Linked DNA regions of Homo sapiens: region 1 is linked to region 2. The links are contacts of gene promoters, found by promoter capture Hi-C in human tissues and cell types (Jung and others, 2019). All regions are on one chromosome and are shown on one strand. Each heading gives the region's core, a stretch centred on a gene start or on the middle of the fragment in contact. The rest is flanking DNA. Distances are from core to core; before and after follow the strand shown.

Region 1 (4,959 bases), core at 112-2,611, 58 kb before region 2:
TACAAGAAACCTAGAATAGCCAAAATAATCTTTTTCTTTTCTTTTTTATTTTTTTTGAGACGGAGTTTTGCTCTTGTCCCCCAGGCTGGAGTGCAATGGTGTGATCTCAGCTCACTGCAACCTCCGCCTCCTGGGTTCAAGCGATTCTCCTGCCTCAACCTCTGAAGTAGCTGGGATTACAGGCAGGCACCACCATGCCCGGCTAATTTTTAGTAGAGTTGGGGTTTCACTGTGTTAGCCAGGCTGGTCTCAAACTCCTGACCTCAAGTGATCCCTCCACCTTGGCCTCCCAAAGTGCTAGGATTTCAGGCATGAACCACCACGCACGGCCCAAAATAATCTTGAACAAGGAAAACAAAGAGGGAGGACAGGAAAAAGTTTGAGGACTCACACTTCCTGATTTCCAAACTTATTATAAATCAACACAGTGTGATAATGGTAGAAGAATAGAAATATAGATCATGGAACAGAATTCAGAGTCCAGGTATAAACCCTCCTATTTATGGTCAACTGTTTTTTGACTAGAGTACCAAGATAATTCAATGGGAAAAAATAGTCTTTTCAACATACGGTGCTGGGAGAAGTGAATATCTACATGCAAAAGGATAAAGCTGGTCCCCTATCTCATACCATATATAAAAATTAACTCAATAACTTGGTCCTCAGTTTGATCAGAATAAAAAGAAAAAAATTAACTCAAAATGGATCATAGACCAAATTTTAAGAGCTAAAACTAGAAAACACTTACAAGAAAACATGGGAGTAAACCTTCATTACTTTGGATCAGGCAATGATTTCTGAGATATGAAATCAAAAGCACAAGTGACAAAAGACAAAAATAGATGAATTGGGCTTTGTCAAAATTAAAAATGTTTGGGCCGGACATGGTGGCTCACGCCTGTGATCCCAACACTTTGGGAGGCTGAAGCGGGCAGACCACCTGAGGTCCGGAGTTTGAGACCAGCCTGACCAACATGGTGAAACCTTGTCTGTACTAAAAATACAAAAATTAGATGGGAGCGGTGGTGCGCGCCTGTAATCCCAGCTACTCAGGAAGCTGAGGCAAGAGAATTGCTTGAACCTGGGAGGTGGAGGTTGCAGTGAGCCAAGATTGTGCCATTGTTCTCCAGCCTGGGAGACAGAGCAAGACTCTGTCTCAAAAAAAAAAAAAAAAAATAATAATAATAATAATAATAATAATTTAAAACATTTGTGCTGCAAAGGACATCACCAAGAAAGTGAAGAAAAGACAACCCACAGAACAGGAGAAAATGTTTGCAAATTATATATCTTATAAGGGACTTGTATCCAGAATATAGAAAGAATTCTTACAAGTCAAAACAACAAAAATCAAATAACCCAATTTAAAAATGAGCAAAGAAGTTGCAATAGACATTTCTTCAAAAATGATATAAAAATCACCAATCTGTACATGAAAAAGATGTTCAATATCATTCACTAGGGAAATGCAAATCAAAACCACCATGAGATACCATTTCTTACTTATTAGGATGGCTAGAATAGAAAAGATGGACAATAACAAGTGTTAATGAGGAAGCGGAGGAATGAGAACCCTCATACATTACTGGTGACGATATTAAATGGTGGCGCCACTTCAGAAAACAGTTTGGCATTTCCTCAAAAGGTTAAACATAGAGTTATCATATCCTGCAGCAATTCCTCTCCTAAGGTATATGCCCAAGAGAATTAGAGCCTATGTCTGCACAAAAACTTGTACATAATGTTCACGGCACCATTATTATTATTATTATTTGTTTATTTTTGAGATGGAGTCTCACTTTGTCACCCAGGCTGGAGTGCAGTGGCACAATCTCGGCTCACTGCAACCTCAGCTTCCCGGGTTCAAGCAATTCTCCTGCCTCAGCCTCCCGAGTAGCTGGAATTACAGGCATGGGCCACCATGTCCAGCTAATTTTTGTTTTTTTTTTTTTTTTTTTTTAGTAGAGAAGGAGTTTCACCATGTTGGCCAGGCTGGTTTCAAACTCCTGACTTCAAGTGATCCGCCTGCCTCAGCCTCCCAAAGTACTGGAATTACAGGTGTAAACCACCGCGCCCGGCCTCACAACACCATTATTTATAATAGCCCAACAGTGGAAACAACCCTGTTGTTCACCTGATGAATGGATAAACAAAATGTGATATATCTATATAATGGAATATTATTCGGCCATAAAAAGGAATGAAATAGTGATACATGCAACAACATAGATGAACCTTGAAAAGTTATGTTAACCAGAAGAAGCCAGTCACAAAAGACCACATAGTGTGATTCCATTACATGAAATGTCCACAATAGGCAAATCCATAGAGACAAAAAGTAGAGTAGTGGCTGCCAGGGGCTGGGGAGAGAGGGCAGTGGGAAGTGACTGCTAACGGGCACTGGAGGTTCTTTTGGGGATGATAAATTTGATAGTGGTGATGGCTGCACAAGTCTGTGAATATATTAAAACCACTGAATTGGGCCCTTTACAGAGGTGAACTTTATAAATAAATTCTATCTCAATAGAGCTATTTTTTTTCTTTTAAAGGCAAGCCAGAGGTGGCTCATGCCTGTAATCCAAGCACTTTGGAAGGCCAAGGCAGACGGATCACTTGAGATCAGGCGTTTGGGACCATCCTGGCCAACGTGGCGAAAACCCGTCTCTACTAAAAATACAAAAATTAGCTGGGTGTGGTGGTGCATGCCTGTAATCCCAGCTACTTGGGAGGCTGAGGCAGGAGAATCACTTGAACCCGGGAAGCGGTGGCCGCAGTGAGCCGAGATCACAGCACTGCACTCCAGCCTGGGCTACAAATGGAAACTGTCTCAAAAAATAAAAAAAAAAAATAAAAGAACTTAAAAAGGCAAGCTATAGGACAACAAAGGACTTATTAATATATCCAGAATGTGGCCGGGTGTGGTGGATCACACCTGTAATCCCAGCACTTTGGGAGGCTGAGGTGGGCAAATCGCAAGGTCAAGAGATCAAGACCATCCTGGCCAACATGGTGAAACCCTGTCTCTACTAAAAATACAAAAAAAAAAAAAAAAATTAGCCAGGTGTGGTGGTGCGTGCCTGTAGTTCCAGTTACTTGGCAGGCTGAGGCAGGAGAATCGCTTGAACTTGGGAGGCAGAGGTTGCAATGAGCCGAGGTTGTGCCACTGCACTCCAGCCTGGGTGACAGAGTGAGACTCTACACCCCCCCCAAAAAAGAAAAATATCTACAAATAATAATAAAAATGGAAGATAACCAAATACAAATATATGAACTGAGCTGATCACAGTGGCTCATGTCTGTAATCCCAGCTACTCGGGAGGCTGAGGCAGGAGGATTGCTTGAGGTCAGGAGTTCAAGGCCATCCTGAGCAACATAACAAGACTTTGTATTAAAAAAAAAGTAAAACCAAAAAATAGACTGAAAAGTAACTTCTTAAAAGATGAAATTCAGTTGGCCAATGACATAAGAAAAAGTGATCAATTCCATTAATCATCAGGGAATACAAATTAAAGCCACAATGAGAGACCATGGCACACATATCAGGATGACTGAAATTAAAGATTTTGGAGATATCCTAGTGTCAGTGAAGGATGGGGAGCAACTGGAATTCTCATACGTTGCTAATGGGAATGGATATTGGTACAACTCTTTGGAGAACTGTTTGTCTCTGTTGACTAAGGCTGAGTATACACATATCTTATGACCTAGCAATTACTCTACTGGAAATGTTCCCAACAGAAACATATATACAATCACCAGAATATTCCTAGTAGAACCACTGGACAATCACCAAAATGTTCATAGTAGCACTATTGATTACAGACCCAAACTAGAAACAACTTTTAGATATATCAGACAGCAGAATGGATACATAAAACCTACTTATATTCACAAAATGAAATACTACTGCAAGGAGAATGAATTATCTTCAACTACATTGACAACAGGAATAAATATTAAGAATACAATGTTATAAGAAAGAAACCAGAAACAGAAGAGTTGACATTGTATTATTCAACCTGTAGACAAGGTCGTTCTAGGGTGGTAAAAGTCAAGAGAGTGTTTACCTTTGTCAGAGGTGAACAGAGTAGGAGGAAAAGGAGGGTATCTGGGGGCTGATAATATTTTATTTCTTCATCTTTATGCTGGTTACATGGGTGTTGTCAGTTTGTGAAAATATTTTGAGCTGCAGATTTTTTCAAGCTGTGTGTTTGTGTGTCTGTGTGTGTGTGTGTATTGCACTTAAATTTAAAAAAACACTTTACTTAGAAGCATCCTAACCATTCTCCCAGATTAATTTTAAATACTCCCCCCACCAACTTTTTTTTTTGAGATGGAGAGTTGCTCTGTTGCCCAGGCTGGAGTGCAGTGGTGCGATCTCGGCTCACTGCAACCTCTACCTCCCGGGTTCAAGCCATTCTCCTGCCTCAGACTCCCAAGTAGCTGGGACTACACGCATACGCCACCATGCCTGGCTAATTTTTGTGTTAGCAAGTGATCTGCCCACCTCGGCCTCTCAAAGTGCTGGGATTACATGTGTGAGCCACCGCACTCAGCCAATACCCCTTCATTAACATTCACCAAGTCACAAAGTCTCTGGATACCTACAGTTGGAGACAACTCTACTTTCTCCAAGATTCCACAGCACTTGGTAGAGTCCTTGGATGACTCAGCCTCATCTAGAAGCATCTGTAGGGAAAAAACAAGAGCTTTGGAGTCCTGGGTTCTAGCGCGAGCCACTTCCCAGGTGGGTGACCATGAGCAAATTCCCCACAGCTGTTCAGTTCTTAGCTACACACAGCAAGAAGTGATTCTGCTGATATAAGGGGCTCAGGTAGTTGCTGGAATCTCCAGAAGACCCAAGCCAGGCTCAGAGGTATGCTGCAGGTGTGTCTAAATCACACTAAAGAGCTCGTCTGGTGCAGGCACCATTGCTGTTGCTGTGGGCATCACTCACAT
Region 2 (4,689 bases), core at 1,649-4,148:
TACATGAGGTTTTTTTTTTAAGAAATTAAAAGAGTTTATTGGGCAACTTAAAATCCACTTTACCTTTCTTTTCTTTTCTTTTTAACCTTTCATCCCAATTTATTGGATGACTGAAAAATAAAGGGAAGTGTTGCTGCATTTACAATTCCTGGAGAACGCCACCGCTTACTGAGTGTGGAAAGCTGTTGGAGTTAGGAGAAATGGTCTTCCCCAACTCTACGTGACCCTGAACATCACGTCCAGATCCTGGTTTGCAAACCCTGAGAGTGACAGTGCGCTCCGCTCCCTGTAGAGATCCTGTCACCTCTAACACACTATGACCCTGTGTCCCAGGAGCAACAGGATGAGGGGGGGTCAGCTTGGACGTCACTTTCTCCTCTGGGAGCCCAGGGAACAGTGACATAGTGTGAGGCCTCCCCTCATGTGTCAATGTCTAGCACTAGATCCTTCTCTGAGAAAAGGCATTGATGATGGCAGGAGAAAGGGTGGAGGTACAAAATGTGAGAGAGGGGATGGGGACAGTGGGGGGACCACACGATGAAACAAGAAGCTCATGGTCAGTGTTGTCGGAATCTCCTCTCTCAAAGCCAAAAGCTCCATCCTCAGCCTGGGTGGATGCATTCCACATAGATTCCTTGAGCCCCTCCTGTGAGCCACACACCATGCTAGGTGGGGACAAAGTGAGAAGCAAGGCAGCCTTGCTCCCTGCTTTTCTAGAGCTTAGGGCAAAACACCGATATTAAACAAGGGTTGTTGGCAATTATGGAAAGTGCTACAAGGAGAAGCTTCGAACTTGGCCCCCTTAGGGGGTCCAGCGCCTCCCAACTGTTCATGTACTCCTCCAGTCTCCACCTGCACTTTAGAACTTTGCTTCTCACATATTCGTGGTCAACCCAGGGAGATGGAAACCCACTGCAGCTGCCTGCCAGGACGTCACAAAACTGAAACTAGCTTTGCTTAGAGTGGCTCTACCTCAAGGACACAGCTCCTTCCTGACTTCAGGCAGGAATGGCCATAGTCCACATGGTGCTACGGAGCCCAGGAACTGGCCCAGGGGATAAGCTGTTGATAGGAAACCACTACACTAGATTCCCACAGAGCCCAGCCAGTTCCTCAAGCCCAGCTCACTATATGCCCAGCTCACCGCACGCGCCGCGGCTGGCTGGCTTGGCACCATGCTGCCTCCCCACAGCTCATCTCGGCCCCAGCCAGCACAGAGCCCAGCAGGGACAAGGTGAAGAAAGCCACAGGCCATGAAGGGGTCATGGGAACCCCCTTCCCATTTCCTCCTCCCCTCCCACCAGGCATTCATGGTCCTTTGGTGTCTCTTGGCTGCCCTTCTGTCCCCTCTCCCCACTTAGAGGACATGAGTAAAGGTATTGGCCTACCTAGAGTTCCTGCCCCATCATCCACTCCCACGGGCTGATGGGACTCAGGATTCCAGGGTATTATGTGCCCTCTTCTATCCCGGTGCTCTGGCTGTGCCTGTCACTTTCTACTACCACCACCAACACACACACGCACACACACGCACACACGTGCACACACCCACATGCACACACATGCACACAAGCGCACACACACACACATGCACACATACACACATGCACCATAAGAGGGGGTGCCTATAATCTGTTGCTCTTGGCTTCTGCTTATAACTGTTCCATCCACCTAGACCACTGTCTCTAGTATCCATACCCACCTCTTAGAACCAGCCATCTGTAAATTCACTATTTGTGCCAAGCATTGTACTTCATATGCATTCATTCATTCATTGGACAAATATGTATTGAGACCTACTGCATGCTGGGCACCGTGCTGGTGCTGGGGATACAAGGGTGAACCAAATAGGCATCATCCCTGCCCCCAAGCAGCTGCTAGCAGACATTAATAGCTCATGTTCATTGAGTGCCTACTATATACCCACCCTGTATTAAACACTTTATGAGTTATCTGATTTAATCTGTCAGAGAAATTGTTTCATTTAAGGAGCACATCAAACTGAAACATAGAGAAAAGTGTGGACTTGCCCGAGACTGTTGGACGGCCTTGGCTGAGGGGTAAAGCAGGGACTCCAAAGCGCTGCCCTAACCACCACCTTTCCTTTCCCTGCCCCACTCAGATGCCACCTCCTCCAAGGGGCCTTCCAGAATCTTCTCCCAGACTCAAGGGCTGCCTTGGTCTCTCTAATCCAGCCTTCATATTTGACACAGCCATCTCCTCCCACAAGGATACCCAGAGGACTGGAGCCGTCTCTGCATCCTTCCTCAGGAGCGCTGCTGGATGAGCGACCCCCGAGCCCCTCCAAACGTGCTGTGGATGGAAACTACGGCCCTGGGCTCCTTCTCTGCCGTGGGTTTTCATCTCGCTGAATCGCAGATCTTCCGGAGGGGCCTCTGCATAGGGCAGACCCATCAAGGCGCCCATTTAACAGATGGGGCGGATAAGGCCCCAAGTGGGTAAAAGTTCCTTTATCTCCAGGCCGGGTCAAGGTCGACTCCCTTTTCTTCCAGCGAGCCTCGGCCCCTCCGCCAGATGCTTGGGTGGGGAGGGGACAAGGAAACGACCTCGTCTCCAAGACCCACTGGAGATGATCAGCCTCCCTCCCACCACCCCGGACCAACGCCCTCCCGCGCAGACCCCAGGCACTTCCTCCAACAGATGTGGGGGTGAGACTGGGGACCCCTCGTCCCCACCCCCGGGCCCTCCTTCGCCCAGCGCGGCCGGCAGGTGGACAGGAAGCCACCGCACCTGGGCCGGACCGCTCCTCGCTCCCCGCAGCCCCGGGCAACCCCGGCGACCAGGCGCCTCCTACCTGCTCTGTCGAGCCCCGCTCGGCCTCCCGCCGGCACCGCCGCGCTCCCAGCCAGGGTCCCCGCCGCCGCCCGGCGCTGCCACCCTGGGATCCCGCCCCCGCCCGGGGCGTCCCGCCCCCGGCCCCGCCCCGTGCAGGTGATCCTGGGGAGGCCGGAGAACGCGCCGGGGGTGCCAGGGTCCCGCACACTGGAGTGGCGGCGCCTCCCCGTGGTGTCCCCGCTCCTGGGTCCTTTTTGGGACTGGCTCTGGCACTCCCGGGCACTCAGTCCAGTAGAGAAGTCCAGCAGGAGGCTTCCAGGTCGGACTCCTCCGCGGGGTAAAGAGAGGGAAAGGGCCTCACAAACACACCCAGGTGAGCTCCAGGCACTTTGAGTAGGGTCTTTAAAGGAGCACGGCGCTAATCTGATTGAAGGTTTTGAGGGGCAGCTGGAGATTCAGACAACCACAGAACGTTAGACCGGGAGGAAACAGGCTTGGCAGCCGGCAAGTGTCAAGAACTCTTGCCGCTGTAGGATCAAAGGCTCCTTCCTCCCCAGGCTGTCGAGATTCCAGCTGTATCCCAGGAGCCCAGGGCGATATCCCTGGCAGGCAGCGGGTACTCAATCAATATTTATAGAAAGCGGGAAGAGATCTCGGAGAGGGGATCTCTTCTCTCAGAAACAGGGAAGCTGAGGCCCAGGAAGCAAAGGTGAGCACAAAGTCTTATAGCAGGTTAGTAACAGTATCAGGAGTGGAGGCTGGTTTCCCGGTTCTATTTTCAATTGATTTCCAGAAAGTGATTGCATCTGGGCCGACTGCCTTGCCGCTCAGTGCCTGTGAGATGCTTTCAAACTCTCCTCAGCTAAGAACTAAGATTTTTATAGGAAGAAAACACGTATTTTTATAGGAAACTCCAAGGTAGTATTTATTTATTTATTTATCTTTGAGACAGGATCTCACTCTGCAGCCCAGGCTGGAGTGTGGTGGCACAATCTCGGCTTACTGCAACCTCTGCCTCCTGGTTCAAGCGATTCTCTTGGCTTAGCCTCCCGAGTAGCTGGGATTACAGGCACATGCCACCACACCCGGCTAATTTTTTTGTGTGTGTATGTATATATATATTTTGGTAGGGACAGGGTTTCACCATGTTGGCCAGGATGGTCTTCAACTCTTGACCTCAAGTGATCCACCAGCCTTGGCCTCTCAAAGTGCTGGATGAGCCACTGCTCCCAACCCATTTTATTTTATGGAGACTGGGTCTTGCTCTCCTGCCCCAGCTGGAGTGCAGTGGCGGGATTTCGGCTCACTGCAGCCTCTAACTCCTGGGCTCTAGCGATCCTCCCACCTTGGCCTCCCAAAGTACTGGAATTACAGGCATGAGCCACCATGCCCAGCTGCAAGGTGGTATTAACAAATATTGATTGAGAGTATAATCCTGTAATTCTACTTTCTCATCAAAGACTTGAGACACTTGAGTATGGTCTTTAAGGAGCATGGTGCTAATCCATGGCTTCAAGAGCTTCCCTGTTGTGGGGGAGGCAGACCTGGTTACAGGGAGAGGCCACAATGTGGGGAGAGGAGTCCAGTGGGAGCCTGCTCTGGCCCTGAGGCCTGAGTTCCACAGTAAATGGCACTGGGGGGGGCCACTTCAGGATGCTTCTGGAAGTTTTTCCAGGTTTGTTTGTGGGGGCAAGAGCCCCCAGTGCATGGTCTCAGGTTCAAATCCTGGCTCCACTGCTTACTATTCGCAAGATGGGAGTAGTTTCTGAGACTGTTTCTTTCTGTAAAATGAAGAGAAGATACTTCAGTATAGTTGCGGTGAGGATTAGAAATGAGATCACACTTGTGAAGTGCCAGGTAAGTGGGAGAATGATTATGCCAAGTGGCAGGAGC

Evidence for each region. Contacts are between HindIII fragments. The study calls those that stand out against the background at their distance.
Region 1: a fragment that was not itself captured here is called in contact with the fragment with the promoter of NCMAP in region 2 in 1 of the 25 tissues and cell types used here (hippocampus).

The regions. Positions count from the first base shown.
Region 1 is chr1:24,610,465-24,615,423 of GRCh38, reverse strand. No RefSeq gene overlaps it. Among named protein-coding and RNA genes, the nearest start is that of SRRM1, 30 kb to the left of the region's middle. The HindIII fragment of the contact is 7,723 bases long and covers 1-4,959 here.
Region 2 is chr1:24,554,296-24,558,984 of GRCh38, reverse strand. NCMAP (non-compact myelin associated protein) reads right to left here and starts at 2,898. Exons shown (of 4, transcript NM_001010980.5): 1 at 2,816-2,898. It overlaps NCMAP-DT (NCMAP divergent transcript), which reads left to right and starts at 2,961. Exons shown (of 3, transcript NR_109781.1): 1 at 2,961-3,169. The HindIII fragment of the contact is 18,614 bases long and covers 1-4,689 here.